6 separate regions of the Homo sapiens genome follow, and all the other regions are linked to region 1. Evidence: promoter capture Hi-C in 16 types of primary human blood cells and fetal thymus (Javierre and others, 2016). All regions are on one chromosome and are shown on one strand. The core of a region is centred on a gene start or on the middle of the fragment in contact, and the rest is flanking DNA. Distances in the headings are between cores, read along the strand shown.

Region 1 (5,187 bases), core at 1,326-3,825:
AGTCATCTTCAATGAAACAAAAAAATATAGGAGGTTGATACTTGGGCTATAGCTACAGACAGCTGCAAGGGTGGGGGCAGTCGGCATGATCTGGTCATCAAAGTCAGGGTGGGTCTTTCCTTAGCCACAAGGCCTGGGAGCAGACAGCAGGCAGATATCCCTCTGCAAGCACAGAGCCAGGCAGCCAAGCCCTCACTGAGACAGGCACTGCCGCACCTCACTGCCTGCTCCAAATGATGCAGAGATGCTTACTAGAGTGAGAGACGAACCAAAGGGTGCAGAAGCACACACAGTGCGGGCAGCAGCCCCAGCCTGAACCCTGCACGGACCTGACCAAGGACACCCCATACTCCTAAGGAGGCTCACAATATAGACCAGGAATGAGCAAATAGCAAACGATAGATACAGTCAAGCCCCCAGTTGTGGGATGCCAGCCAGCAATGGTTGTGCCCAGATGTCAGACCCCCAGTGAGGGGGATCTAGATGTGGGGTCCTAAAAAGTGGAACTAGCCACAGAACAGCCTAAGCCTGCCTGGTAAAGGCACAGGCGCCAGTCAGAGTGGCCAGTCCACAAAACAGTCAGTCCCACACACCCCCGCTCCATTCACACATGCTTCACACGCAGTCTTAGCACATGCACACGCTGACACGTGTGCATACACACCTCTTGCTGCACCCACACCATGCCCACTCCTTGTGACAGAGGACAGCATCCCTGGCACAGATATCTCAGATCCACCCCCCGCCCCCCACCACCCCTCACCCCACCTTCCAAGCCGGCTGTCCCTGGGACTGAGGTTGAGGGGCACCACCACAGAGAGGATGCCGGAGGAGGTGGCCCCCTCTGAGGGGACCAGCACCTTGGGCGAGAGGTGGCAAGACAGAGCCCAGCATCTATCCTGAGGCCAGGAAGCACACACTCACCTGGAGCTGCAGTGGAGGCCTGCAGGCTGGCCCGCTTCTTAAAGGGATATTTGGCCTTGGGCTTGCCAGAGCCAGATGGATAGGATGCCATGGCTGGGACCACGGCGGCGACAGCGGGGGAGTCTGAGCGGCACCGGCTGGGGCCTGGCTCTGCCACATCCAACCCCTTCCTCCGCCCCGCCCCCAGCGGGAGTGACTGATGCAGGAAGCAGCGGCTCCGCAGGCGGAAGAGGCCCTGGCCACGATTTCTCATGTTGTCTAGGCAACCTCGGGGAGTGGGGCCTCCATCTCTGCCCCTTATCCCTCCCCTGCCTCCTCAGTCCCAGGAGTGACGTGACTGATGGTGGCTGGGCCTGGCGGGGGGCGGGGAGGGGGTGGGTAGAAAAGAAGATGGGGAAGGGCCAGCCCCCAGCTCTCCACTAACCCACCAAGAGCCCTCACCCCATCATGCCAGGGCTCCCGGGCAAAGAAGCCAAAGTCCAGGCTAGCTGGTCCTTCCAGCTAGCCTGGAAGAAAAAAGAATAACAAACAGGAATTCAGCAGCGAGCGAGTCCAAGCTCAAACACAGTCCTCCCGGGGCAGGGCAGGCATACTCCGTGAAAACCCAGCACCCACTTTCCTTCCACATCTGACCCTCAGCTCCCGGGGTAGCCCAGCTCTGGGAGGAGGGGGAAGAACCGAGAATCCCAGCCCAGGAGGGAGGGGCCTGTCCCGGGAAAATTCCACCGTCGCCAAATAGCTACCTCCCAGGAAGGCAGGAAGGCCAGGAGACCCCCTTGTCTGGGGGTCTGGGACAGAGACCCTAGCCTCTTTGGATTTTTCCTCTGTCTCTGCACACTCTGGCTCTGCTCCCCAGGCCCTCCTGGGAGGAGCTGACCGCCTTCCCTAGGTCCTGCTGCTGTGCTGTGACTCCCACCCTCTTGTCACTCTGGCCACAGCACTTCTCTGTCCCAGAGACCCTCCCTCCAACACACGTACACACACTCACCTGAGGCCATGATGCCCGAGTTCCGAGGGGAGGCTGCCCACGAGAAGTCTGTACAGCAGAAAGCCCGGGTCCTGAGGGACGGCAGGGGGATCGGGCCACAGACCCCAGCCAAGTCACTCCAAGGGCCCCTGCCCTGGCACTGAGATGGGGAAAGTAAGGCAGTCTTTCAAAATTGCCAGCTGGCCGGAGGTGGACTCCCGCAGACCTCGGCAGCCGGACTGGCCTCAAGGCGACCCCGGTGTCGCGACCACCCAACCCTGCAATCGAGAGGCTGGTAGGCCACGTGCTCCCAAGGGAGCGGGACCCGAAACTCGTCCAGATTTCTCTCAACACTCCCTGGGCATTCAGGGTCGGACTCCCGCGGCCGGACTGTGGGGGAGTCACGCAACAGGTGAGACCCCACCAAAATCTCGCCGGCTCCGCGCCAGGCTCTGCGGCCCTTGGCCCCGCCCCCGCCTGGCCCCGCCTCCGCCTGCCGACCCCGCCTCGCCATTTTTTTCTCTTCCTGGGCGCCACGTGGGCAGCCACCACACCGCGGTAGGGCTGGCCTGAGCCGACCCTGGGTCTTGGGCCAGTTCCGTGCGTCAGCTTCCTCATCAGTAAGATGGGGTAATGACAGTACCTCACTCAAAGGGGTTACTGTGAAGATTAAACGTAAAGTCCCTTTACACAGTGCCTGGCACGAAGTGAGGGCCCAGTGAAAGGTAGCTGTTATCATTGTCCCAGGATTCATTTTAAGCAGAAGTCCTGCCCCTGCAATCTCACTTGGTCGTCTGTTTTCTTCCGGCCGGCGTAGGTAGGAGGCTGTGCCCTGCAATTCTGGCTCCCCTTCCCACATTTCTGTATTTGGTGGTTAAGAGCTTTAACTCTAGCCAGAATGTCTGGGTTCAAATCCAGATTTCACCTACTTCCTGACTGATACTGGGCAAGTTACCTAACTTCTCTGTGCTTCTATTTCGTCTGTAAAATGAGTGTAAGAGTACCTGCTTTATATGGTGGTTAAGATAAATGAGTTAATATAAGTTAACTGCTTAGAACTGTGCCTGGCCTGTAGTTAGTACTCAGTATTCATGTATTACCATTGCTTTAGCCTTGGCCTTGGTTCTCTATTGACACTCACAGGTTGATTCACTTGCAGCCGTTCTGGGGTCTATCCAACAAGCATCCCCACTGCCAAGGGGTAGATAATCCGACCTAAAGGGAACTTGTGGAGGGAAGTCCCTAAGACTTCACTGAATATAATTAAATGCATTAGCAGGAATTAATCTCTTCCCTATTTTCCCTCTTGTGGGAGGCCTTTGCCCCCCACACCCAGTTGTTCTAATGCTGTTTGTCTGGCTCCTCCCAGTTCTTACCACTCCCACAGCAGAGATCCTTCCCAAACTCTGCCTCCCTCTTCTCTCCCCACGCTGGATTCTGGACCCTGAACCCTTTTCTCCACCTGCATCTGGTGCCACTTCCATTGATCCCTGGCTACTGTTCCCTGAACAAACTTAAAAAAAACTTGGCCTCTTCACCTCACACAGAATCCATAAAACTAAAAAGAGAACAGAGATAACCAGGTTTACCTAATCAAAATAGCAAAGACTAAAAAACAAAAAACCAAAAAATAAACGCTAATGCAGGTTGGCAAGGGTATAGTTAGTGAGATGGGAGACACACACACACGTACATGTGCACAAACACATTACTGGTGGCCTTGAACACTGATATAATCTTTCTGAAAGCCATCTGGTAATATAGAATCAAAATTTTCAAAAAGGTTCTTATTATTTGACCCAGTAATCAACTTTCTGGAAGTTGTTTTTCTAAAAAGAGCTGCCAGAAAAATATGTATGCAAAAAGTTGTTCAGCACCACAATGTGTATTGCATAGAAAAGTTAGATACTTTAAAGGTCGAACAATAGGGGAATGTTTATGTAATATTCATACCATGAAATACAGCCATTAAAAATTGTTCTTGGAGAAATGTTTAATGATGTGGAAATGTTTACAATATAAAGTTAGGTAAAAGAATGGATGCAAAACACTATACACAGTATGGTCCTACTTATGTGATATACATGGGTAGAAAAGAAACACACCAACAAGTTTACCAATGATTATCTGTAGTGATGGAATTATGGGTTATATTTATTTTCTTTATATTTATTTGCATTTTAGAAATTATAATACATACCCATAACTTTTATAATCAAGGGGATAGAAATCAACAAAAATCTGTAAAAATCTGTAATTGCCTCCACAGTCCCCCCAACCCAGCCTTCCCGGGGTCTTAACCCCAGACTTAAACTATTCTGTTTACATTTATGGCCCACTGAATTGGTCTTGGGGCGCTTAGGGATTTTGAGGCTGATGGACTCTCAAGAATGAATAAAATGAATCTCAAAAATCAAGCACCATGTAACTACATAAATGTCATGTATCTTCTGATAAGATGCAAATGTTGACATAGTTTTAAAGATAGTATCTTGCATTGGGCCAGGTCTCTTGAGCATCCTGCTTAATGCAGACCTACCTACCTCAGCAGCCAATAGGTGGCAATCCTTGCCCTCCACCCAGCCCAGGCAAACCAGTTCATTAGTCCCTTTATGCTAGTCCCCTAGTCCCATCTGCAACACACCCTTCACTCTACAACCCTCCCCTATTTCCAGGTCATCTGGTGTATTGTTGCTGCTAGGAAGTCGGCCCTGATTATAGTTAGGCATCAATCCCTCCACCCACTCCATACCAGCAAGAATCTCAGTGAGGTTTCATTGTCTACGCAGAACAGAGCTTGGGAAATAAAGGAGTGAGTCATCCTATGGCCTGGGCTTTTTTCACACTGAGGCCTTAACATTCATTGCCTTTGAGCCTCTGAGATATTCCCTAGCTCCAAACACAGCTTCCTCCCCTCCTAGCCTGTTCCCCACATGGCTCCTTAACTGGCCCTCCCGGAATCCCAGCTCCCTAAAGATGGTGCACTCCTGTTTCTCTGAAGAAGTGCTTTTCTTTGCTTCTGGACTTCAGCTCACTTGTGATGTCCGCCTCCCTAGCTAGGCCAGAACAATCTTCACAGATACTAAACTTGGGAGAGAATATCTGCAGCTCCAAAAAGGTCCTTGGCCAAGGCAATTTCCCAAACCATACCTTATGCCTAGGCCCTTCTAGAAACAAGCTGTTCAGCTCTGGTTTCTCAGCTTCTCCCAGCAGCCAGCTCCCTCTCCCCCTCACCTCAGTCACCCAGCATTGTGTTTATAGCACCATACAGCTGTTTCCATCTATACTTGTTTATA
Region 2 (5,187 bases), core at 803-3,302, 420 kb before region 1:
AGTAGCCACATGAGGGCCATGTTGTGTGAGACCAGCAAGGCCGGCCTCCCTGAGACCCTCAGGACAGCACAGGGTGCTTTAAGAGAGCCTCATCCCAGAGCCACGGTCAGCCTGCCCTGCAGAGGACCACACATGGTGACACAGGCCAGGTGGCAGGCCTGAGGGTGTGAGGGCTCTGCCTCAGGAACTATGAGTGCTCTGGAGGTCTGAGACTCACCTGACCTTGGGAGCCCACGGGAGCCCTTTGGGGCAAGTCAGCCTGTCAGTCTGTGGGTGCTGTAGCGGGGGAGGCATCACTTCATCCCGTTCCAGGGGAAACGTCTCCCCCTCCAGACTGTTGTCATCATCATTCTCCTCTTCCTCTTCTCGAGAGTCATCAGCCTTGTAGGGATCCCGCTCGTTGAAGGCATCTAGGTTGTCCTGCTTTATCAGAGCCTGAAACCAGGGAAGGGAGATGAGACAAGAGCCAACTGAGGACGCAGACCAGGGAAGTGCAGCCAGAGGAGACACAGCACATACAGGTGTCCAGTAGAGGCAAGAACAGTGGAAAAACCACAGTGGGAGTCAAGACGGGGGCCAAACCATCAACTACTTCTTGCTCCAGTCCCTCAAAAGCACCACGTGCTGAGCACTCACCATACACTGGACCAGAGCTGGGGACAAAGTATCCTCGCTGTGGAGGCATGATTCTGACTGGCTGATCAGAGATCATTTCCAGCAGCCCTGCTCCTCCAAGGACTGTGCTGCTGCAAGCATGCACCTTGAGGGCCCTCAGGAGTCACAGGGACCTCTGTCGTCCTCACCTTGTGCTCTCGGCGGCCCCGTTTCTGCTGCTGCTCAATCAAGTCTGAAGCAGATGCTGGTGGAGAGGCTGCTCTCATGTTGCGAATCACTTTGATGCTGTCCTCAGGAAGCGGGGGGAGGCCCAGGATGCTGCGCTTCTCAGCCTTCATGCTCTGCAGCTCCTCAAAGCCGCCTAGCGTGCACTGCATCACAGACAGGGAAGCAGAGCCAGGGTCAATGTGTCCACAGGCTGGCCCCTGACCATTGTGTCAGGCTCAGAAACATTCATGACATCATGACCCATGTCTTTATAGAGACCCAGGCAACTCCTGAACAATGGACTGAAGCCACTCCCAAGGAGAATTCCGTGACATCCGCAAGGGAAAGGAGAAAAAGGAACAAGGAAAGAGTGGAGATGCAGGCTGACTGACCCTAGTGCAGATACACTAACTCTGCACCTATGACATACTCTTCAATTTAAAAAGAAGCAAAGAGCCTAACCCTGCAAGTTCCTAGAAAAGTTGGTGAGACTCATGTTTCACAAGTTGTACATGCAAGTCTTTCAAAGTCAAATTAGAAATACTGTTGGTTGCTCAACTTTAGAAGAAGAAAAAAAGCTTCATCTAAACATCTCCCAAGAAGCAGAAACGCCAGCAACATCCAGCTTTAGACTGCTTAGTTTTACTGTTTCTGAGCAATTCAGCTTTCCTCTCTAGCCTTAGCAAGGCTTTATGAAGAACAGAATGTGTGGCCAAGATAAAATGTGTCAATGACTTTTAAGAAATCCTATACTTACTGAGCCCTGGCTCCAGAGTTGACCCATTCTGAAAGGAAGGATGAGCCCCAGTGTAGCAGAGGCCCAACTCACCTCCACCGCCTCCCCATGTCACTCCTCCTGGGAAGGCCTCCTGGCATGGCCTGGCTGCTAACAACGCTCCAAGCCCAGTGTGCTGGACGGCCCACTCTGGCACCCAGTCCCTCCCTACCTAGACACAGAGTCGGGCTGACACCATACCCTGAAGAAAATGGAGGCTGGCTCAGGGCTCACTCTTGCCCCTTTAAGTGATATCCAACCAGGGCCCCAATTACATCAGCTGTAACTTTGCCTCAAATCCCTTTACAAACTCCAGGTCCAGAGCTGCTTGCTGAGAGGCAACTTGTCTGGGGGAGAGCTGTTCTATGACAGAAAACAGCTTCCGGGGTCAGAGAGCCAACAGCCTACTCTGACTCAAGGCCTATGTCCTCGTTGGCTGCAATGGGACAATAGTGGCCCTTCTTTTGTCATCTCCTTTTAGCAGCTTTTTAAATAATTTTTTTTACCAAAGCAGTTTTACAGTCACATAATTCAATATTCAAAAGGATATTCAAGGAACAGTCTCCCTACTGCCCATCCCATAGCACCGTTCTCCTCCTCCAAGGAGGTGCTCACCAATACTGTCTTCCAGAGCAGCAAGAGAACTTTCTTCATGGGAAAGTGAGGGGCGTGACCACTGCAAAATTTGGTCACCATCCCAAACAGCATGATGGCAAATGGCTCATTGTTGTACAGCGGGGAGCCTGGAGGTGACACAAAGGTATCAGGACCCTCCCAAAGCCTTCCGCCTCAGCTTCCAGGCAGGGCCTCTAGAGAGGATCCCCAGGGTCCTACCCAGCTCGGCTCTGAAGGTCTGCCGCATGGTCCTCCACTCAGCCTTGTCACCCTCACACTCCTGATGAACGGTCTCCACTATCAGGTACATGATGTTGAGCAGGACCCTGAGGACAAGAGCCAGCTCACAATGGAGTGGGATGGGGGGGTCAAAGGAGCACCCTAGTGTCTAACAAAGTGCTTACACAAAGCAGGGGCTTACTATTAATAAATGGTATCTGAATAAATGAGTATGAACAAGAATGGCCAAAAGCATTTACCACCCTAAGCTTCCTGAAAAGAAAAAAACCACAGAGGTGGTAGCGAGCTGTAGGGTCAAAGCAGAACAGGGTCACAGTGAGAACAAAAACAGGGTTTATGATGAGGAAATGGAAAGCAGGAGCTGAGAGGTGACGCCCAGGGATCCTAACACCCGGGAGGCAACACTACAACCACCTAGTCTAAAAACTTCCAAATTCATAAAAAGAGCCAGATTTCAACCCTCAAAAACTGAGGGGTGATCTTGGTGGTCAGCAGTTGCTGTGAGCTCCTGGGCAGCCATGAAACATTAGGAAGCTGTCAGGTCTAACCCAATGAAGATGAGCATCAAGCTGTGTACACAAGAAGGTGGGAGTCCAGGGAACACCATCAAGTGTTTCATCCAAATACAAAATACCCCACGACCAGGTCCTGAGTAACAGTGTGAGTAGGAGGCCACACTTAGCTGTGGCTCTAGTAAGTCACTTGACCCTGGATTGCCTTTGGGAGTCTCAACCCAGAGTCCCACCTAGGACGAGCCCTCAGCAGTTCCTACTAATCATTCACACTGAGCCCATCACACATGCAGATGATGTGTACAGAAGCACACACAGCAATGACACCCACAGACAGCCTCCCACACCCTGCTCTGATCTCATCTCTGACTAACGCTCAGGAGCCCAGGCTTGCTGCTCGCCTCACCTGAGGTCTGTGCTGTCAGCCAGGGAGATGGCAGGCTTCCTCACAGCACTGCTGCAGGCGGCACTGTTGCTGCAGGAGATTTTGAGAGTCAGCATCTTCCTCCAAGAAGGAAGATAAGTGATGTCCCTGACAAGTACTGACCAATGGGGAAACAAAATGCTGTGATACGTGCTTGGACTGCACAAGAGGCCACAGGACACGGTGGTTAAGAAACCAGACCATGGCTGGGCATGGTGGCTCATGCCTGTAATCCCAGTACTTCGGGAGGCCGAGGCGGGTGGATCACCTGAGGTCAAGAGTTTGAGACCAGCCTGGCCAACATGGCGAAACCCCATCTCTACTAAAAATACAAAAATTAGCTGGGTGTGGTGGCAGGCACCTGTAAACCCAGCTACTCAGAAGGCTGAGGCAGGAGAATAGCTTGAAGCCGGGAGGTGGAGGTTGCAATGAGCCAAGTTCACGCCATATCACTCCAGCCTGGGCAACAGAACAAGACTCTCTCTCAAAAACAAAAACAAAAACAAAAAAAACACAAAAACAAAAACAAAAAACCCAGCCATGCACTGGACTGCCACGGTTTGAATCCTGGCTCTAACTGCGCCTTAGTTTCCTCATCTGTAAAATGGGGATGACAGTAGTACCTATATCCTTAACATGAATTAGCACATGTAATATTCTGAGAACAATGCCCGGGACACACAGGCACTCAATGAGCTGTCTTAGCTTTATCATTGATGGTGTTATCCTTAGATGAGCAGCAGCTGACCTGTCCACTGGACAAAGGTGACACAGGCAAGGCCAGGCACTGGTTGAGCCCATATGTCAGTCTTGTGCCTGGCCTCCTGCCAAGGCGGAAACTGCAGGGCGAACACAGCAGTGTCTGCAGGTTCAAAAGAGAGCTCAAAGTGAAGAGTCTCCTTCTGAGGAGCACCCCAGGCCTGGGCAGGGCCTGCACTGTCTGGTGTAAAAACTCTGGCATCAGGGAGCTGCAGGGACCTGTCATTAGTCTCCATTAATCTTCAAGGTGTAAGTGACCAACTCCGTTATTCAACCCAGGTGGTCAGAACACAGCCTGGGACCAGAACTTCTGCCCCATTTAACCCTCTCAAAGCCAGTTAGTTCTGCAAGCTCTGTCCCCCTTCCCATCCCAGCCTCCCCTTCCCTACTCAGCCTCTCAAAAATGCTCACTCTATTTCCATGTTCAGAAGCTCCACCAAAGCATTGAACGTGCCCACCTCCAGGAGGAGAAAGATGTTGTAGCGCATCCAGGACTGCACCTCTGCCTCCGAGCTGCACTCCCCAAACGTGCCTGCAATGCAGGGTTCAACTCACTGAGCCCCTCCCTGCATCTGAGTGGGCAGAGGTGCCAGGGAACCCTGGGGAGGTCCACTCAATACCTTGAGCAACATAGAGAATTGCTCGAGCCACCTTGAGTCTCTTCTCCCTGGCAGTGACTTCCAAGCCATCCAGGAGCCTCATGGCATGGGTCCGGTGCTGGTTGGTATCCAGCTCAGTCCACTTCTTGTCTGTCACTGCAGGGCAAGAAACCAGTTACACCTGAGCCTAGAAAAATCCTCACAATGGCATGGACCCATGTTAACTCACCAAATTCAGGACTGCCATAGGACCAGAAAGATAAGTTACACCCTATGTAAGTGGTAAGATCATACTGCTGCTCTATGAATTTGATTCCAAACTGAAACGCTGGTATTTTGGGTGCAATTTTAATCACATGATTTTTTTTTCTCCCCTAATATGCACATTCTGAAAAGCCCCCACCGATGTGCCACAAGCCCACTCTACATGTATCTGGCTTT
Region 3 (5,187 bases), core at 913-3,412, 400 kb before region 1:
TAATCCCAGCACTTTGGGAGGCTGAGGCAGGTGGATCACCTGAGGTCAGGAGCTCAAGACCAGCCTGGCCAACATGGTGAAAGCCCATCTCTACTAAAAATACAAAAATTAGCCAGGTGTGGTGGCGGAAACCTGTAATCCCAGCTACTCGGGAGGCTGAGGCACAGGAATCGCTTGAACCCGGGAGGCAGAGTTTGCAGTGAGCCAAGATCATGCCATTGCATTCCAGCCTGGGCGACAGAGTGAAGCTCCATCTCAAAAATAAATAAATAAATTAGAAAAAAAGTATATACATATACAATTCCTCATTAAACTTCTGTTTACTTACTCATTCATTTCTATTAGCAGAGTCATAGTTTTCTATTTTGTTCAATGGATTACAAATCATTACTATGCTGATGCTCAGGTTGTCTCAGATTTACCCCATGTAAATCCCTTACAGCTGGCTTATGTATCCTTTTTTAAGGCCTTCCTTGCTTTCTGGTTTATCTTGTACTTTTTTTTGCTCTGCCATGGAATCAGTCATCTCTCCAACGAGTCCTGGCTTCTTTCGGTGGAGAATGTAGTGCCTAGACCTCGAGGTCAGGTATGTGCACTGGGGGAAGAGGGGAACTGCTGCTCCAAGGCTTGCTTAGTAGAGAGAGCTAGGGAGTGTTTGTACACACACACACACGTACATTGACATCTGTATTTCTTTAACTAGGTTGATATTTATGACTTCACACTATCATCTCCTATTCAAACCCAACAGCAGAGTTCATTCTAGTGTTTTCCCTTTCCAATGTGTAACACCTTCCTCCAAAATGAGACAGCTGGCTTCCGCTACCCTTAATATTTTCACGTACAGTGATCAAATCCCTTATCCCTAACTAATCTGCCATTGCCATTCATCCCCTGCATAGATGCATTCCCCACGCCACTTGGGATCTGACTCCTTGTACCAAGCTACATCCCCAGTTCCCACAAGGATACCACCCACACTCACAGGCTGCAAATCCACATGAATCCCTAGCTTGCTCTGTCTTACCTAATGGCCAAATTGTGGGTAAAGGAAAAAGGGAAGGAATTTGGATCTTGTTGGAATTTTACGTAAACACCACAAAGGAAGAGATCATCTGATTTAAACTGATGTATCCCCAGTATCTAAAACAGACTTTGGCATATATGAGGTAATAGTTAGGTCCTTTTTGCCCTTCTACCTTCTGCTATATGAGGATGCATAAGAGGTACCATCTTGGAAGCAGGCAGCAGCCCTCTTCAGACACCAAATCTGCCAACGACTTGACCTTGGACTTCCCAGCCTCCAACTGTGAGAATATCAATTTCTGTTCTTTATAAATTACTCAGTCTCAGGATTTTGCTGGAGCAGCAGAAACTGACCAAGATAAATACTTTCTTACATCAGAAGACACTGGCCAGTAATCCCAGCACTTTGGGAGGCAGAGGCAGGAGGATCACTTGAGCCCAGGAGTTTGAGATCAGCCTAGATTTCATGGCGAAACCCCATCTCTACCAAAAATACAAACAATTAGCTGACACTGTGGTCCCAGCTACTTGGGAGGTTGAGGTGGGAGGATCACTTGAGCCCGGAAGGCAGAAGTTGCAGTGAGCTGAGATCAAGCCACTGCACTCCAACCTGGGTGACAGTGAGACCTTGTCTCAAAAAAATAAAGAGAAAAAAAAAAAAAAAAGACACTGAGACCACTTCAGAAATGGATACAGGTGTGGGAGGAGGCTGAAGCTTACATAACTTTGGGGGCATTCTTCAGAAATTAGGTCTTAGAAGGACTATGCAAATGAGGAACCCTGAGGCTTAAGCAGCAAGTCTGCTTCCTGAAGGAAGTTAGGAGTGAAAGTACCCAGGCCCGGTGCTTGGCACAGAGCAGGCATACAAAACTTCAGGTATTACTTTGAAGAATCCTGTATCCAGCCTCTATATATTAGGCCCTCAACAAATCTCTATTAAATGCTACTGACCTATAACTTGTCACACCCTAGAAAACAGGTTCTAATGAAGTTTTGCTGTTTAACAAAGAATGACACATACGGACTGCCAATAAGGTCTTATCATTTTAATCGATTTTAATGATTATTGCTCATCTGCAAGGATTAATATTGCATTCATTAAAAATCATTCAATACAAAATGAACTTGTTCTTCCCAAGTTGCTCTCCACATGCTCCCTCTGATGCCAGACTTTTTTTTTTTTTTAACAGTGTCCTTTGTTACATGGCTTGACAGAGACAGAGCCCTTACCTATTATTCCTATGGACACGGTAATAGATATGGGATCAAGGGGCAGGTCAGAGGGCAGGTGAATGTGGGTCCCTTCCCTCCAGCAGGGCTAACGTGATGGATACACTGTTGGCCAGGTTACCTCCCCTAACAGATGTGGTGTTCTGATTGGTTGGTTAAGTGCCCGAGGAAAATAGGCCTTAACTGTTAACATCTACAGAGAAGAAAGCATGGTCACACTGGCAAGGAGTAAGAAGGGATTGGGTAAAAGAAAATGGGAGAGAAAAGGGAAAAAAGTTTTGGCAAGACAATTGTTCCCTGCTAAGAAGCTGCAGGGTGAAAGCTTTCCTTTCTTCTATTTTTGTTTTTAATGTCTGTCTCTCTGATCAGTGGAAAAGTGAAAATTTCTAGTATCTAGCACTAACGTATGACCCAACTTTGAGGGATCACAAGCTAGAACAAGTTGAGGATTTAAAATCCTGGATAATTATATACTTAAAGCTCATGAGCATAAAGCTCACTTGACCATGCAGAAATGCTGGGAAGCAGGGTGCATGGCATGGGAATACATCTCCCTGATCTTTGAGAGAGCCTCTCTGGATATTCTTTCAGAGCATGAGCCAGGATGTACTGACTACTTTCTTCACACATCAGTTGCCCTTTATGATCTCAGTTCATAAACTCTTTGTGGTATGTAGCAATCAAAAGTCATATTACTTCTGTAAAACTAACATTATATAGGGTGTATAGTCCCAGACAAATTATATGAAGCTAGATTTTTCTTGCCCTGGCCCAATTTATCATTCCTCCTCCTGCCCACACCTACCTCCCTTTAAATATTTTAGGTTGCAGAAGCACAGCTGACCAGAAATTTGCTCTTAAAGATAAATCCTAAAGATAGAACTCAGTGCTTTATACTGAGTAATGGCTCAAGAAATTCGCCTTCAGCACAAGCTGTATGGTACACAGCTGATAGAATTTGCTGTTGTGGCTCCAGTTCACTGATGCTATGAACTACGGGCTAGAAACAGAGGGACTTAACAGGGCTTGAGACTAGCATTTCTCTAGACTCAGCATCCTTAGCTCCAAAGGTTCAAAAGAGAAATTGGTAACAACTAACCACTCAAGCAATTCCTCAGCATTAACACCAAAAATTCTCCTTAATTTTTCTTTTCTTTTTTTTTTTTTTTGGACAACAGAAATAAATCCTAGAGGACAAAATTAAACTCAATAGAGTGTAGTCTAGTTAAAAACTCGAAAAATGAGCAAGTCTGGTGGGAGTGGAGGAAGGGCTATACTATAAATCCAAGTGGGCCTCCTGATCTTAACAAGCCATGCTCATTATACACATCTCTGAACTGGACATACCACCTTTACGCAGGAAACAGGGCTTGGAACTTCTAAGGGAAATTAACATGCACCACCCACATCTAACCTACCTGCCGGGTAGGTACCATCCCTGCTTCTCTGAAGAAGTGAAAGAGCACTGATTTCAGCAGCTAAGAAATGGGCTCTTTTAAGGCGATTTAGACATTGCAGATTGTTCCACAGAGAAGGTACCTTAGCATTTCCTGTTAATAAGGTACCTAATTAAGACTAAAGTCCCCAGAAATGGTAAAGAAAGAATCACCTTTCTGGGCTGGGAGAGTAAAATCCTTCTTTAGTGACTAGAGTGAGGAACCCTGAACTTCTATTTCATCTAAAGAGCCATGAAGCAAGTTCCTGTGTGGTCTGCAGAACTTGGATAATGAGATGAAAAAACAAGAATGAAATTATAGGAAAAAAATCAAGAGGAAAGGAGTAAGAAGAAAATAAAAGTTATCTTAAAAAATATTTCTTTAGAGTGTGTGGTTCAGGTGGACTGGTCCTTGGTAGTATGGTCCATTAGTATCTGTAAAGAGAGAGAGTGATTGGTTAACACTTATGTCTTCCATATGAGAATTCCAAAAAACAATCGGAAACAGAGCACCTTCTCCAGGGCCCCTCCCCAGCCTGGGTGGGATCCCTGCAGTCATTCCCCAGGGCACCAGTCTCCCTTATTCTTCCACAGGGTCTCTGACAATGCCATTTCTGGTGTTACCGCCTGTTCCCAGGAATGAGTCAGTGTTTTTTCAACCCTGACTAAACATTACAATAATCTGGGGAGGTTTTACAAAATAATGTTTTGTAAATTTGGTCCCATCGCAGACCAAATATATCAGAATCTCTTAGGGTGAGGCCCAGGCTCCAAAATTTCAAAAAAACCCTAACTCCCTGATATCTCCCACAATTTCTCTATCTACCTTGTTAACTGGAACAGTTTTTTTGTTTGTTTGTTTGTTTTTAAGACAGAGTCTCACTCCATCACCCAGGCTGGAGTGCAGTGGCATGATCCCAGCTCACTGCAACCTCCGCCTCCCAGGTTCAAGTGATTCTCGTGCCTCAGCCACCTGAGTAACTGGGATGACAGGTGCCCGCCACCACACCCGGCTAAGAGATAGGGTTTCGCCATGTTGGCCAGGCTGGTCTTGAACTCCTGACCTCAAGTGATCCATCCGCCTAGGCCTCTCAAAGTGCTGGGATTACAGGCGTGAGCCACCGTGCCTGGCCTGGAACAGATTTCTTGTATTCTTCAAAATCAGGTACAACATTTGATCTTTATGTCAGAAGCAGGCTAGCCTGCTTGGTTTAATACTGGGAAAAAGAGCTTTTCACTTGCTTCTCCCCAGGTTACCTGTAATAATTAGGTTTGAATGGCCCATTTTTGTTGAGTCCCAGATATTTTGCTTGGTCATCTGTCAGCTCTGTAAGGTGGGCATCAAATGATGGCAGATGCAAGCTGGCAACGTATTCATCTAGGAAGAGCAAAGTGGCAGGAGAGCAGACTCCTTTTCAAAATGTCTCTCAAGTTATAACTTCCCATTTTCATTTGAAGCTTTTTTAAGAAAGCAGACAAGGGATGGAATAACTCTG
Region 4 (5,187 bases), core at 775-3,274, 360 kb before region 1:
TCCCACCCCCAAAACCCATCCTAAGATAGCCTCACATGGCACAGCTAAGGCGATTGCTTCTCATGAATGCCAAGAGATGACTTGTCTTCAGCCTACCCACCCACCTGACTCAGCACCTCTACTGGCAAGCTCACTGCCCTGAACAGCGCATCCACACACAGGTGAGAGACCCCCCACGGGGCAATTGGAGAAGAACAGGGACCCAAAGACAGATGCACCTGCTGTGTGTGGTGGTGGGAAGTCTCCAAGGGCCTGGAGCGAAGACCCTTGCTAGAAAGGAGTGGCCTAAGGGCAGTGGTGAATTGGGAGATGCTGTCACCAGAAATGTAGTGGCATTGGGCTACCACACGTGGGCTTGGTCTTGTTAATCAGATTCACTGTTTGTCCACCCCCAAATTGATGTTCTACATTCAGTCATTTGTTCTTTTATTTATAAAATATATATTGAGTGCCGAAGAAGTGCCAGCAGCAGGGCTAGATGTCAGTCGGGACTACAGAGATAAATAAGCTGAGGTGCTGATCTCTACGTGGGGACAGGTGATGGGGGTGGGGTGCAGTGGAGGGCAAAGGGATGACACAGAGGGAGATGCTGCCAGAGCTGAGTCTTGACAGATAAGCAGCTGGGCAAGGGAGGGAAGATTCTCCAGGCTGAAGAAACAGCCTGAGAATAGGCATGGTGATGGAAACAGCTTGGCATATTACGGGAACTGTAAATATCCCCATGTGGGTGGGGCACAGGGTGCAAAGCAGGGTGAAGTGAGCGCTGAAGCCAGGGCCAGATCCTGCAGGGCGTGTTAAGCCCTGGGTGGGTGGTGGTGATGTCTGCCATGCTGGGGAGCACAGGAGGAGAAGCAAGTGTGGCTAGAGGGGTGGAGGGGGGCTGCTGAGAGGAGTCAGCTTGGGACATGTTGAGTTTGATATGTCTGTGGAGGGCACTGTCCCTGAGTCTCAGGGGAGCCCAGGTTGGCACCTTTTGGAACTGCCCGCTCCCTGCCAGTCAGGCTCCCCACCAGGGGGAGGCTGTGCTCCTCCTGAAGGCCTTTCACCTCCTGTCGGCCAGGTGTTATGTTAGCCCTCTGGAATGAAAGTGCAGAAAAACTGCAGAGATCTTGGGTGACAATGGAAGTTCGGAAGAAGGTGAAGAGGGCAGTGGCTCTGTCTCTAGCTCTCCAGCATGGGCAAACCCTCCAGCTCCAGGCTTCTTTCTGTCCCAGAACTGCTACCTTGCACAGCTCTAGGAGGCACCACTGACATTGTAATTATTGTGAAAGGTGCCCTGGAGCACCACTTCAGATTGGTCACCTACCTCGCTGGCCCTTAGGGACCCCCAGAGGGTGGGCTCCCGGTTGCACCTCTGTGGCTGTGGGTGCTGGTCCTCAGGCTTCCTGGCTCCTACTTCCCACCGAGCTCCCTCCCTCCCTACCCTCAGCCTTTTCTCCTTCCCCTTCTCCAGTTCCAGTGGGAAAACATTCCTCCTTCTCTGTCTCCCCCTCTGCTTATTATTGTCATATTTATTAGGATCACTTACTCTTTATTATCATTTTGAACATTATAGGAAAGAAAAATCCATGAAGATTTTTTAAAAATTTCTTTTCATCTTGTTAAGTTCACTCCTAGTTCTTAGCAATTTGCAGAAACTCATTTTTACATACCTGTGATTGGTAGGTTCATGTCCTTTTGTATTCTGCTTTGATCAAATTACAATATTTCAAAAACACATGACCCGAACGGAGAGCATTGACATACTTGTTATTATTGTCCATGTTTTCCAAGCTTTCTGTCATATTGCTTTATGAGTTTGCTTAACTGTTTTCCTATTGTTCGGTATTTGAATTGTTTCCAACTAGTGCAATATAATGGAATGGAGGGAGGTGGTTTCGGAGTGGGTGTGGGGATGGCTTTCAAGCAAAACAGGCGAAGATGGGTCACAGCACCAGCTCCTGCCAGAGAAAGGGAGCAAAAATGTAAGTAGTGGGGGCAGTTATAATGACTGTAAACAAGGACCAGGATAAGGAGGCACCTTTTGGCCCTAGAGGATCTGAGGTCCTGTGTCTGGAACTCGTGATAGCTGACTCATGGCGAGGCTGCATGGTGTGAGGAAGCAGGAAAACTGGGCAGAGATGTGGGCTCAAATCTTCACTCTGCTACTAACTTGGCCACTGGCATCCTGGACCTTTTTTGACCTCCTCTTCCTCATGCAAGACAGGTTGATAGCTCTCCATCTGGGGCTTGTAATGACCTAATCCAGTAAGATCATAAATATGCAAAAGCTTTGAACAAGTTGCAAATATTGTGCAAATGTAAGGTACTAAGATGTGGGTCCAGGCTAACCATGGAGGGCAAAGGAGCTATTGTTGAGAATTTGGAATTCTCTCTTCGCTCCGCTTCCCGGAATGACAGGAATAAGCAGAAACCCGTCTGCTGCAGGAAAGGATTGTCATTGCTGGTTTTGAGTACTTGTTGACATGTGGATGTGTTTCCTCAAAAGGGAGGGCTGACACTGCCCCAGCCATGAGAAATTGCTGCTTTCCTGGCCCAACCTGGCCCCGGGGTCTGGCTGTGTGACCAGCAGCCCCTTGGAACTTCCTCACATGCTTTTTTTCTAGGTTGGACCAGAGATCCTGATGTATCTTACTTCAGTTCCCAAAGCTGCCACACATTAAAGTTCATACTGAGAAGGCATCCACCAATTGTAAACAATGTTCAAGAAATCTGTTCTGATGACTGTTTGTGCTACTTTGTATGTTTTTTCCTGCTCTTAAGTGTGTATATGGGAGCGGGGAGGATGGAGGTGGGGATGGTGAAGAGTTTACCAAAAAAGTAGAAATTGTGAAACTGGCCTTGGACTTTGGCCTCTGCCCAGTCAGTTATTTACTGAGCATCAGCTTTGTCTCGGGAGCTGTGCTGAGCGCCAGGGATCCCACAGTAAACAAGACAGACACAGTTCCTGTCCTCATGGGGCTTAGAGTCCATAGCAGAGCTTTGTCAGAAAATCAAGGTTCCCAGTACTGTCTGAGAGGGCACACCCTCTCCTTGCTGTCTCCATGTGCCCCACCCTGAGCGGTCTTCCAGAGTGTGTGGCATGCTTCCTCTCCCTGCTTCTGAGGCTGTGTCTAGCCCCATGCTAGGGAAGGAAGAGCAGTCTCTCTCCCGAGTTCAGAGATGCTGACCCACCCTTGAAGTAGCCCCAAGTCTTTTAGAAGCTTCTGGGATACTGCTTCCCTGGCAGATGTGCTCCCCCAGGGCAATGGTGAGTGGGCTGGTGAGATGTAAGTGTCAGCTTCTGGGATAAGGGAGGACACTGCCTGTCTTTGCCTCTCCCAGGCCTGCCTCTCTACCCATAACCTGCAACCTGCCTCTAGGACTGGAAATAGTCCTGGAATCGCAGAGACACAGGTGGCCAGGATGGTTTGATATCCTGGTGGGTACTCCTTCAGGATGCCTGCTGGGGGCTAGTAGAGGATTTGTCTTGACTGGAAAGGCTCTGGGGCTGATGGAGTGGAACAGACAGAAGCTGCCATCTCCCAAAGCTCAGGTGCTCAGGGTCTTGCCCCTTTGCCCTGAAGGGCCCGGCCTGTGGCTGGTTTGCTGGAGCCAGAGGAGAGTGGTCGGCTGCTGGTGGTGCGGAGGCTGCTGCGGGGTGGGAGCCTGCCTTCCTCACCCTCTCTGGTGTGCAGGGCGGGCCCCATTGCATCACCCTTGGAGTCTCTGCTCCTGGCTTTGCAGCCAGCTGGGCCCCTGGAGGAGGGACTCTCCCTGTTTTTCAACAAACCATTAACCATTTCACCCTCTCAAGCCCTCCCTGCAACCAACCTGGATTCCCAAGGCTGCTCCTCATGCCTCTCAACCCTGGTCTTGAAAACCTCCCTTCTCCTCCACGATTCCAGGAGCTCTGCCTGGACAGCCTTTTAAGGGTTGAAGGCTCCACATGCACAACGCAAGCCTGGCCTCTTCCCCGGGGAAAGAGTTAAGCCTTGTCCTCCACACCCTCAGCATTTGTCCCATTCTGCAGCAGTGAGGACAGAGCTCTTCAGCCTCCAACATGAGCTCATGCCACTTCCACACTTCCACAGAGTCCTGACGGAGGGTCAACACAATATTTTAGACCAACGGCAACGATGGATCTCATGCCAGAACCAGGAGCTTGGACCTTGGCCTCTCCACAAAGGCCCTTCAGCCATTTCCTGCAGACCCGCTTGGCCCTTTGACCTCTTTATAGGGGTTCAGGGAAGGAGTGGGTGATGTGAGGGCCTGGAAGGGCTCAAGAGACTGATGGAAGAGAGTCGCAAGTACACAGTGTTTCCCTGTTTCTGTTCGGGCTAGATGAGGAGACATCAAGGGGTGGGGATGGAGAGGCTGTTCCAGTCAGTGAAGCCCAAGCCTCATTCCCGCTCGGGTCTTTTATCTCCCAACCCCAACATTCCCTTCATCGCCCCACCCATTCCAGGGCCTGAAATAGCCCGAAACTTCATCCAAGCCTAGGCCCAGGTCCCAATTTTAGTTCCACAAACATTTGGCTGCTCCATAGCTTGCAGGATCCTGAGCTGGGTCCCGTGGCGGATGCAGAGATGAATGAGGCCCAGCCCTTGCCTTCAGGGAGCTTGCAAAATGTGTCCAGATGACTGCAGTCAGAGGCGGAAGATGCCCGTGGAAGAAGAAAGAAAGACGCTCCCCGTAGAGGGAATGGGGCAGGCTTGTGAAGGAGAGTTGGTTTTGTTGAATCTTAAAGGATGACTAGGATTTCAAGAGGCGGACATGAGGAACACTGACTTTAGATGGAGGGAACAGCAAGAGCAAGAATATGGAGGTGTGAAATGTAGGGTATGCTCTGGAACATGGCCAGCAATCTGGTTTGACTGGAGCACATGGGAGAATGTGGAGCTGCTTGCGGTTTCTGTGGATGTGTGAGTCTGTCTAGATTCCCTACAGGCTGAGGGCTCCCAAGTGCCAATGACCCACAGATTCCCAGAGCTTTACAGAGCAGCCTATTTGTTAATCCTCTATTTAGGAACAGAAAGGTGAGAAACTTGCTCAGACTCTAAAGCACATTCGTGACACAGCGAGGACTGGACCCAGGTTCTCCCACCCTTATCTGTTTTGGCTCAGTTCAGGTCCCTTAATCCAGGAGGCTTCGTCCGTGGAGTTGGCTGACTCAACAGACTCTGCCATCCCTTAGGGGTCCAAGGA
Region 5 (5,187 bases), core at 1,713-4,212, 340 kb before region 1:
ATCCTTGCGATTCTATCCATTTTTGCCTCACATATTTTGATGCTCTGTTTTTAGGTGCACACACATTAAGAATTGTCCTGTCTTCTTAGAGAATTAACCCTTTTATCATTGTCTAATGCCTCTCTTTACCTTTGATAACTTTCCTTGCTCGGAAGTCTGCTGCCTAAAATTAATATAGTTTCTCACACTCTCTTTTGATTAGAACTAGCATAGTATGGCTTTCTCCATTAATTTACTTTTAATCTGTGTGTTTATATTAAAAGTGGGTTTCTTGTATACAACATATAGTTGGATTTTTTTTAATCTACTCTGACAATCTGTCTTTTCATTGGTATATTAGACAACTGATGTTTAAAATTATTATTGATACATTTGGATTAATATCTACCATAGTTATTACTATTTTCTATTCATTATTCTTTGTTCCTATTTTTGTCTTCTATTCTTTTTCTGCCTTTTGTGGCTTTAATTTAGCATTTTGTATTATTCCATTTTCTCTCCTTTCTTAGCATATTAATTAATATATACTTTTTAAAAAATGTTTTTTAGAGGTTGCCCTAGAATTTGCAATATATGTTTACAATTAATCCAAGTCTACTTTCAAATAACACTATAACACTTCAGGGATGGTGAAAGTACCTTATAATAACAAAATATTCCTAATTCCTCCCTCTCATCCTTTTAATCACTCATTCATTTTACTTAATACATAAACATATATAAGCATGTATAGACACACAAAGTATCCATAATATAATACTTTGTTGCTATAATTATTTTGAGCAAACTATTATGTTAGATCAATTAAGTATAAGAAAAATAAGTTCTATTTTACCTTCACTTATTTCTTCTCTGATGCTCTTCTTTATATAGAACAGAGTTTCTGACCTATATCATTTTCCTTGTCTCTGAAAAAACTGTCTTAGCATTTCTTTCAAGGCAGGCAACAAATTCTCTCAGTTTTTGTTTGTCTGAGTAATTATTTCTCTTCCACTTTTGAAGGACAATTTCACAGAATTTTAGGTTGGTGCTTTTTTTTTCTGTCTTAACACTTTATTTCACTCTCCTCTCTCTTGCTTGCATGGTTTCTGAGAAGTCTAATGTAGTTTTATCCTTTCCTCCTCTATAGGTAATGGGATTTTTCCCACTTCCTGACTTCTCCATCTTTGATTTTCTGTGGTTTGAATATAATATGACTAGGTGTAGGGCTTTGTTGTTGTTTTTGGCATTTATTCTGCTTTGCGTTCTCTGAGCTTCCTGGATCTGAGGTTTGGTTAACTGCCATTAATTTGGAGAAATTCTCAGTCATTATTGCTTCAAGTATTTCTTCTGTTCCTTTCTCTTTTTCTCCTCCTTTTGATATTTCCATTATGCCTATTTTCCACCTTTTGTAGTTGTCCCACAGTTCTTGAAATTCTCTTCCTTTTTTTTTTTCAGTCTCTTTTCTCTTTGGAAGTTTCTATTGCCATATCCTCAATCTGAGAGATTCCTCAGCCACGTCTAGTGTGCTAATGAGCCCATCAAAGGCATTCTTCCTTTTTGTTGCAGTGTTTTTTTATCTTTAGCATTATTAAAATTCTTTCTTAGAATCTCCATCCCTCTGCTTACCCATTTGTTCTTGTATGTCGTCTACTATTTCCATTACAGGCCTTAATATATTAATCATAGTTGTTTTAAAATCCTGGTCTGATAATTCCAACATCCCTGCTATACCTGAGCTTGGTTATAATGCTTGCTCTGTCTTTTTAAACTATGTTTTTTGACTTTCAGTATGTCTTACACTTTTTTTTGTTGCACACCAGATACAATGTACTGGGTAAAAGGAACTCTGGCAAACAGTCCTTAGTGGTGTGGAGTTAAGACGTAGGGAGAGGATAAGCATTCTATATAATGAGGTCTCAGTTTTTTAGTAAGCCTGTGCCCCTGGGCTGTAAACTTCACAGTGCTTCTCAATATCCACCTCAACTTGCAATGTGGGACACGATGGCTGCAGTGGGCTGGAGTTGGGTATTTCTCTTCCCCCCAGTTGGTTTTAGGCGCTGATAAAACCCCATTAGGTTAGGCTCTGGTAAAATCGTTTCCCTTGAAGGCAGACCTTGTCCAGAAGAACAGAATGCTCTGGCATATTTCAAAATGGTTACTTTTCCCTAGAAGTATAAAGGGATTTTTCTCTAGTACTCTCTGTGAGAACCTGGTAGAGCTCATGGAGCTAAACCTCACAAAAAACTTGTGAGGCCTCCCTCTGACTGGGACCCCCTGGAGTTTTTATTTCTCAGACTTGTCCACAATGGAGCCTCTAGCAATTTATCAATTACAGTTTAAGTTGTTCTACCCTAATACTGGTTCCCACAGAAGTTTCTGCTCATGGGTTTCTGCCTTGGTTAAGTTGTAATTCTCTGTATCTGTCTCTCTAATTTTAGAGGCAGTGATTTGTCCCGTGACCTCACTTCTCTGAAGGATCTAAGAAGAGCTGTTGATTTTTCAGTTGTTCTTAAAATTTTTTAAATAAAAGAATGAGGAGTTATAAATGAGGAACAGAGTATAAGGAATAATAAAATTTTTCCAAATGTTAGCAAGTTATCTCCACATGGTTATCATCAACGCATCAAATTCAATATATTCAGAATCCCTTTAATTGACTTTGCCTCTTAGGTTCTGGATTTTCAGTCTGGTGCCACCTTTCTGTTGGTCATTCATGTTTGAAACTTTGGGTCATCTTTGACCATTCTCTCTATCTAAAGATTTCTCAATTACCATGTCATGTGTGCTATGCAATTGTAACTTAGTTGTACATCCGTTTTCCTGTCTTTTTCCCCCTGCCCTCCCCTAGTCCATCACCACTTGTCAGGACTTTTGAAATTGCTTCCTAATACTTCCCTGTCTTAAGAGTCAACTTTGGTGGCAGATCAACCTGAGATTAAATCCTAGCTCTGCCACGTATAGCTCTTTGATCTTTGGTATAAAATACTTAACCTCTTTGAACCTTGGGCAGTGCTATAGTTTCAGTATTGGTCCCCTCCAAAACTCGTGTTGAAATTTAACCCCCACTGTGGCAGTATTGAGAGGTAGGGCCTTTAAGAGGTGATTGGATCTTGAAGGCAGAACTGTCAGGTGTGTGGTGGGGCCTGCAAGTAGTTGCCTGCAGCTCCTCTGCCCTCTTCATTTCACCTACTTTTTTTTTTTTTCGGTGGGGTCTTACTCTGTCGCCCAGGCTGGAGTGCAGTGGCGTGATCTTGGCTCACTGCAACCTCCACCTCTGGGTTCAAGCGATTCTCCTGTCTCAGCCTCCCGAGTGGCTGGGATTACAGGAGGCTGCCACTATGCCTAGCTGATTTTTGTATTTTTAGTAGAGATGGGGTTTCATCATGTTGGCCAGGCTGGTCTCAAACTCCTGACCTCCGGTGATCCACCTGCCTTGGCCTCCCAAAGTGCTGGGATTACAGGTGTGAGCCACCGTGCCTGGCCATTTCACCGACTTTGTGAACTTTTCTTCTCCATTTCCCCCCATCTGTTTGCCAGAGGGGTGGGACTGGAAACAGAACAGCTGTGGCTGCTTTGTCTCTCCCCTCCGTGGTGACTTATGGCCTGAGTGGTGACTTACAGGAACCTGGCCACCTAGGTGCTATGCGCCCTCTTAACCTTTGAACTGGAACTGCTGGCTCACACAAGGTTTTGAACAGCTGCAGCAAAAATCCTACAGAAAAGCTGGATTCCTTTGCCTTATGTGGAAACAGCAAGGCCCTGCCAGGTGCTCACCACTGGTCCTGGCAGAAGTGGCTGCTGCTGAGAGTGACCTTCCAAATCCTTGGTGGAACTCAGCACTACAGGCTCTTAAATAAAAACCCTTTAGACACAGAAAAAAGAAAAAAAAAAAACAAAAAAAACTCTCAAACATTTGATGTGAACAGTGCCCTCATTTGTGTATTAATTCATTCATGGATTAATGGATTAAATGGTTAATTAATTAGTTAATTAGCTTGCTCAGCCTCTCACCATGGGGTGCCCCGAACTACCTGGGGACTCCCTACCAGCAAGAAGACTCGCCAGATGCAGCCCCTCAGCCTGGGACTTCTTAGCCTCCATCACTGTAAGAAATAAACTTCTTTAGAAGTTAGTCAGTTTCAGGTATTCTGTTATAAGCAATAGCAAACAGACCAATATAGACATCACCTATAAAACTGAGGTAATAATACTCAATTTACAGGATGATTGTGAGGGTTGGAATACATTATGGGCCAGACACTGAGTCTTAAATGCATTAATTATTACTTTCATTAAATGAGAAAATGTATGCAAAGAGTTTGGCATGGTGCTGGGTACATAGTAACTACTCAATCATTGCTGGCTGCTTTATATTGTTATTCTTCAACCCAGTCCAATTTAGGAACTGCTGGCATATTAACTTGCCTAATAAGCATTTTTTATTATGTTTATCACTTGCTCAAAATCTTCTTTGGCTCCCTTTTGCCTGTTTCAGTAAGTCCAAACTCCTTGCCACGCATTCAAAGCTCTACTTATCAGTTCCCTCCTACCTTTCAGATTTTATCACCTGAATTTGACTATTCAGTGTATCCCATACATACTCCTGGTTTTCCCTCCTTTTTAGCTTTGTTCAAACTCTTCTCTCTCCCCAGAATGCCCTTCTCCTCCCATTTTGCTCAGTAAATATTTGCTGAGTAAATAGATGGTGTCCTTTGGAAAAGCTCTCTAAGGGAAGCCAGTTCTTATTCATGCTATATGTCCCCCCTGTGGTGGGAACACACAGGGCAGATTATGTTTATTACCAGCAGGACTTTTCGTAGGGGAGGCATATATGCAAACTGAGAGGTTTTAAAGAAGTCACCCCTGCTCTACAACCCCTCCACCCCTCCCGACTACAGATGCTACATAATACTCACGCCAAGAGGTGATATTGCTAAATTCCTCTTGTTTAATTAGCCTCTCAATTCAGGGCATACTTATCGGATACCTACAAAGCGCTCTGCAACTTGCCTGAAACTGTGTGGGTCAGAGTACATTTAAGACCATCCAGCTGGAAGTGAGAAGACTTGAAAAACATTGGCAAACAATGCATGTGAATTCAGAGTTGGTTTCTAAATTTTGTAATGCTGAAGACAAGTCTTTGACTAGGATGAGCCTGTGCACTAGAGCAAAGGTCAAAAGAGGTTACAGCCAGTCGAAACTTTG
Region 6 (5,187 bases), core at 1,061-3,560, 280 kb before region 1:
ATTGAGCACACGCCTAATTCTTTAAGCCAGCTTAAAAGAAGAATCTTCCTAGAGCTGAGTTTGGAGGAAACCAGACTATGGGTTCATGTCTTCTTGGACACTCCATGCCCCTAAGCAATTTCACCCCTTTTTGCAGGTGGGAGCCAGGACTCAAGAGGAAAATTGAGCGTATGCCTCTGGAATCACTAGCACTTCTCCCTACATTCCTTAATTTGCTTACTTAATGAACATCTATTGAGCACCTACCTAGGCACTAGGGCTAAAGTTATTAACTAGGACCATGTTTTACTCCCAGGAAGCTCACAGTCTCATGGGAGGAGGAGACCCTTGAGCTGCATTGAGAGCAAAAGTGCACGTGGCACAGAAGTAGGGAAGGAGCATTCATTCCAGAGAGAGGGAACAGCATGCACAAACTCAGGAGAGGCGAGGGCAGTGTAGTGGGTTCTGGGTAGTATAATTACTCAGGAATGATTGGAGCTGGGGAGGAAGACTAGAGGAAGTGAGAGACAGGCCAGACCAATCCCATTCATTGGGCATCTGTAGGTCATACACGTGACATTTGACTTTACATTGAGAACCACTGAGGATGCTAGGAGATGACAGGATTGGATCCATCCATTCAATGAATGTTTTCCAAGCATAGGGCACTGTCTGATGGGGTCCGTGAAGAGGCACATCTGGTGCTGCCTGGACTTGTCCTTAGGAAATGCAGCATCTCATTAGGAAGTGAGGGCTTGGGGGAGTGCCAGACACTTATACAGGTTTACCAGCGAAAGGGAAGGAGCCCACAGAGGGAGAAGCTAAGCAGATGGAGAGACAAGGCCACTGAAGGAGCAGGGTCCTGGGGATAGGCAGGGGTGAGATCAAGGATATGAGGAGAGGGTCTGTGGGGTCAGAGAAATGGATATTTTGCCTTTGAGGTCCAAGATGTGGGTTTGGCAGAAGGAACAGAGCTCAGGAGACTAAGTGCTGCAGAGGGAGAAATTTGGGTAATCAGTGGTGGATCCGGTGAAGAGCGAAGGCGGGACCAGGAAACAGTCATTGTCTCATTCAACAAACAAGACAAATGCTCACGGATCACCACATGGGGACCAGGGACAATTAGGAACCAGATTGCCATGGTTCCCACCCCCAGGAGCTCAAGGTCTCCTGCCATCCCTGCTTGCCCCTCCCATGTCTTCTTGTTGGAATCTCCTTGTACTCATCTTTAGGGCCCGTCTGAAATGTCCCCTCCTCGGGAAACATTCCCCCTTACTCTCAACAGGAATGCTTCCTCTCTCCTCTGGCCCCATGGTTCTTGGTCTCTGTGTCTCTCTTGTGTTTATGTACATTTCTTACCCTTCTTCTTACTGAACTATGAGAGTAGAGATAGCTTTTATCTCCCATGGAACCCATATATACTAGGTGCTCAATAAAGCTTTGTTGAATGGATGAATGCATGAGTGAATGAATGGATTTTACGAATCCAGATCATTCTCTCTGCTGGAAGTAACCTTTTCCCTCCCCTATTTCTAAGCTAAGCTCCACCCTTTCATCCCACTGTGGCCTGTCCCAGTGCTGACTGCTGTGTCACATGCTTGTCATGGGCCCTCTGCACTTGGGTGAGGTCATGGGTTCTGGCAGGATGCCATAGCTGCAGGTCAGAACTCACTCTGTCAATTTAACCCAGGTACTAGCAGAACTCGGGGTGCTTGTCTAGGCTCTCCAAAGGCTGCAGAGACCTGCATGCATACAGGATGCTGGGGCACCTGTCAGGCCTTCCTCGCTCTTGGTCTGACCTTGCTCTGCTCTAGCCCTCATGTGGCATAGCAGTCCTACCAGTGGGCATTGTCCTCCCTGCTGTGGCCTCACCTAGTGCTGACAGTGGCTCCACACACCCACAGAGTAAATGCTAGCACCCTTGACTGATGCCAGGGCCTTCTTCGTGTTGGTCCCCACCTTCTGCTTCCATCTTGTTTTCCATTATGCACCCCTACACCTGACAAAAATTCAATAGCCATGCCCTGGATAAATCTTTATTGAATGTTTTCTGTGTGCCTGGCTTAAGGTTACGTGCTGGGATTTCCAAAGTAGAAGACAGTCTACTGTCAGTGAGCTCACAGTCCAGTGGGCTGTAGGGGTGGGGCTGGAAGCAGGCAGTGACAGCACCCCATAGTTAGTGCTATCGGGGAGGAAGCCCAGGTTGCTCTGGGAGCCTTAAGGAGAAAGTCCAGGGTCAGGCTCAGTTTTCAGGGATGATGACAGGTGAGCCAAGACAAGGACAGAAGGGAGGGGCAGGGAAGGGGATCCCAGGCAGAGGGAGCAGCAAAGGCAAAGTGGGGAGGGGAGTCTGGCTTGGTGTGGTGAGTGTGAGTGGCAGAGGGTTGGAGGGGAAGAAGTCTGGCAAGGCTGGCAGAGGCAAAGCCACAGAAGGTGTCACTATGCCTCCATCCCCACCTGTGGAAATAAACCCCCTCAAGGCCCTCTCGGCTGCTCTCTTCACCAACGAGAGTTCTGTTTCCCTGACCCACATGGTCTCATCTTCCTCAGAATCTCAGTGGCACTTTACATCCCTCTCCTAACCCTTTTCCCTGTGCCAGCTTATTTGCAGCTTCCGTCTGTGCCTGCCCTACACACCTGTACCTGCCTAGAGTAGGGACATGGAGTTTCAATACCCTGCACAAATACTGAGTGAGGATCTAGGTCTTGGTACCGGAGCACAGTGGAGAGTGAGACAGGCGAATTGAAATACCTCAGTCCCCACCCAAATGACCCTGTCCCTCTTTCAGGCTCCCCAGTGAATCATCTGGAGATTGCTCCATAAGCAAGGAATCTATTCAAGAGGAGGACCATCATGTCATGCCCCTTATTGTGTGACTTTTGGCAAACTGTAGAACCTCTCTGATGGGGATAGAAGTAACTCCTCCCTCAGGGCCTTGTCATGAGCAAATGTGATGGCAAATGTGAAGTCTTGGTAAACTTTAGAGCAGCCTCCAAAGTCCAGAAGATTAGGAGTAGGGAAGCCTTTCCACTGCTCCTCACCAGCATACACTTTCCAGGACATGCCTCCACGGCGGAGCGTCTCAGACCAGGCCTCTGCACCAGGATGGGGCTGACCTGTTCAGCGCTCACTACACCTTCCAGCAGCTTGTCCCATCCTCCCATCCTCCTCGACACCTGCCCCCTTTTTTTTTTTTCATTTCTTATAAGTAAGAAGAAGCTTCTAGCACTTCTAGGCGGCCTCATGAGTAAAGCTGTGATTTTCAAGGCTGCAATTTTTCTTCTGATTCTAGAGGATTTACTTCTTGTCGTGTGTGTGTGTGTGTGTGTGTGTGTGTGTGTGTGTGTGTTTTAACCTCTGAGTTGGACTGCATCCAAATTTCAACATCAGAAGAATGGGAAGTTCTTGAACATGTTTAAACTGTGAAGCCCATAGAAGCCAGATCATTCTTTTGTGGAACTACAAAAAAAAAATTTCTTTTTTTTGAGATGGAGTTTCGCATGCAGTGGCACGATCTCAGCTCACTGCAACCTCCGCCTCTTGGGTTCAAGCAATTCTCCTGCCTCAGCCTCCTGAATTGCTGGGACTACAGGCTTTAGCCACCACGCCCAGCTAATTTTTGTACCTTTAGTAGAGATGGGGTTTCACAATGTTGGCCAGGCTGGTCTTGAACTCCTGACCTCAGGTGATCCACCTGCCTCGGACTCCCAAAGCGCTGGGTTTACAGGCATGAGCCACCTCACCCGTCATCTTTTTAAATAACAGTGTATTCAACCTTAAATTAACCTAAATTGTGTTAAATCAGAGACTACTGGATCCTTGTTCTTGCTATGGTTTTAACACATCCCCCAAAAGTTCATGTGTTGGAAACTTAATCCCCAATATGACCATGCTGGGAGGTGGGGCCTACTAAAAAGTGATTGGGCCATGATGGGAAGTCCTCATGGATGGATTAATGTTATCATGAAAGTGTGCTGTTATCCATTGAGTCTGGCCCCTGATGCTTCTCTCTCTGTGTCTCACATGCTTGCTTGCCCTTCTACTCTGTTATAACGCAGCAAGAAGGCCCTCACCAGATGCCATGCAGATGCTGGGGCCATGCCCTTGGACTTCCCTGCTTCCAGAACTGGGGAAATAAATTTATTTTCTTTATAAATTACCCAGTCTCGAGTATTCTGTTATAGCAGCAGAAAACAGACTAAGACAATTCTCATGTAGACAACTCATAGCAGGGGTCAAAGTTTAAGGAAAATGTTGAGACCTCAAGTCCTAAGTGGGGAATATTCTACACTCAATCTTCAGATTGGGAAGGTTGGGGGTGTTTATGTATGTTTATGGGTAGGACTCCGGCTCTAGGAAACAGAATTTGAGAGCTCTGGGTCCCAGAATCAGGCCAAGCCTCAAAAACAATAGCCCTGGGTCATCAGGGCTCTGCTGGACTTCCAGCTCTCCTTCCTGCTGTGCTGCTCCCATGATGACGTTGGCCAGCCTATCCCTCCCACCCCACCCACCACCTCCTGATCATTCTTAGAAAGGGAATGAAGCAGGTAACATTCTTAGAAAGGGAATGATTAGTAACATGGGCTGGAGCAAGACTGCCTGGATTCAACTCCAGCCTCTGTACTTACTAGCTATGCAACCTTGGACAAGCCTTCTGTGCCTCTGTGCTTCAGTTGCCTTATCTGTAAAATGGAGATAGTAACAGCACTGACCTTAATTGTACTGATGAGGATTAACTGAGTTACTACAGGGGTCTACAGATCTTTTCTGTAAAGGGCCAGATAGTAAATATTTTTAGAATCTGCCATTATTCATCCCATGTCTGACAAAAATCGGATAGCCATCCACGGGATAAATCTTTTTTTTTTTTAAGACAAAGTCTTGATCTCTTGCTCTGTCACCCAGGCTGGAGCATAGTGGCACGATCTTGGCTCACTGCAACCTCCGCCTCCCAGGTTCAAGTGATTCTCCCACCTCAGCCTCCCAGGTAGCTGGGACTACAGGCGCCCACCATCATGCCCGGCTAATTTTTGTATTTTTAGTAGAGATGGGGTTTCACCATTTTGGCCAGGCTGGTCTTGAACTCCTGACCTCAAGTGATCCACCCAACTCGACCTCCCAAAATGCTGGGATTACAGGTGTGAGCCACTGTGCCCGGCTGATAAATCTTTACTTAATATTTACTATGTGCCTGGCTCAAGGTTAAG

Evidence for each region. The method cuts DNA at HindIII sites, captures the fragments that hold promoters and counts their contacts. A CHiCAGO score of 5 or more calls a contact.
Region 2: a fragment that was not itself captured here is called in contact with the fragment with the promoter of GNAT2 in region 1 in 3 of 17 cell types (M0 macrophages, naive B cells and activated CD4 T cells); the score reaches 6.7 in M0 macrophages.
Region 3: a fragment that was not itself captured here is called in contact with the fragment with the promoter of GNAT2 in region 1 in 13 of 17 cell types (naive CD8 T cells, M0 macrophages, naive CD4 T cells and 10 more); the score reaches 9.1 in naive CD8 T cells.
Region 4: a contact is called between a fragment that was not itself captured here and the fragment with the promoter of GNAT2 in region 1, in 9 of 17 cell types (fetal thymus, erythroblasts, megakaryocytes and 6 more). The highest score is 8.1, in fetal thymus.
Region 5: a fragment that was not itself captured here is called in contact with the fragment with the promoter of GNAT2 in region 1 in 2 of 17 cell types (erythroblasts and M1 macrophages); the score reaches 5.9 in erythroblasts.
Region 6: a contact is called between a fragment that was not itself captured here and the fragment with the promoter of GNAT2 in region 1, in 1 of 17 cell types (M0 macrophages). The highest score is 5.0, in M0 macrophages.

Annotation. Positions count from the first base shown.
Region 1 is chr1:109,617,004-109,622,190 of GRCh38, reverse strand. GNAT2 (G protein subunit alpha transducin 2) reads left to right here and starts at 2,575. Exons shown (of 9, transcript NM_001377295.2): 1 at 2,575-2,708. It overlaps AMPD2 (adenosine monophosphate deaminase 2), which reads right to left and starts at 2,354. Exons shown (of 19, transcript NM_001368809.2): 1 at 1,913-2,354; 2 at 925-1,277. The coding sequence starts at 1,015. RefSeq lists enhancers at 1,069-1,597, 1,557-1,606, 2,128-2,656, 2,627-2,676, 2,657-3,187 and 2 more and a silencer at 2,247-2,436. The HindIII fragment of the contact is 17,616 bases long and covers 1-5,187 here.
Region 2 is chr1:110,038,887-110,044,073 of GRCh38, reverse strand. It overlaps STRIP1 (striatin interacting protein 1), which reads right to left. Exons shown (of 21, transcript NM_033088.4): 4 at 4,768-4,902; 5 at 4,559-4,679; 6 at 3,371-3,439; 7 at 2,432-2,538; 8 at 2,213-2,340; 9 at 804-986; 10 at 218-435. Among named protein-coding and RNA genes, the nearest start is that of STRIP1, 6.9 kb to the right of the region's middle. The HindIII fragment of the contact is 1,300 bases long and covers 1,403-2,702 here.
Region 3 is chr1:110,020,613-110,025,799 of GRCh38, reverse strand. AHCYL1 (adenosylhomocysteinase like 1) reads right to left here. Exons shown (of 17, transcript NM_006621.7): 16 at 4,949-5,069; 17 at 2,058-4,126. The coding sequence ends at 4,120. Among named protein-coding and RNA genes, the nearest start is that of STRIP1, 11 kb to the left of the region's middle. The HindIII fragment of the contact is 837 bases long and covers 1,744-2,580 here.
Region 4 is chr1:109,976,672-109,981,858 of GRCh38, reverse strand. No RefSeq gene overlaps it. Among named protein-coding and RNA genes, the nearest start is that of AHCYL1, 5.5 kb to the left of the region's middle. The HindIII fragment of the contact is 497 bases long and covers 1,776-2,272 here.
Region 5 is chr1:109,960,122-109,965,308 of GRCh38, reverse strand. No RefSeq gene overlaps it. Among named protein-coding and RNA genes, the nearest start is that of AHCYL1, 22 kb to the left of the region's middle. RefSeq lists enhancers at 4,349-4,918, 4,919-5,187. The HindIII fragment of the contact is 7,765 bases long and covers 1-5,187 here.
Region 6 is chr1:109,898,299-109,903,485 of GRCh38, reverse strand. All of the region lies in intron 4 of LINC01768 (long intergenic non-protein coding RNA 1768), which reads right to left. Among named protein-coding and RNA genes, the nearest start is that of CSF1, 10 kb to the left of the region's middle. The HindIII fragment of the contact is 1,782 bases long and covers 1,420-3,201 here.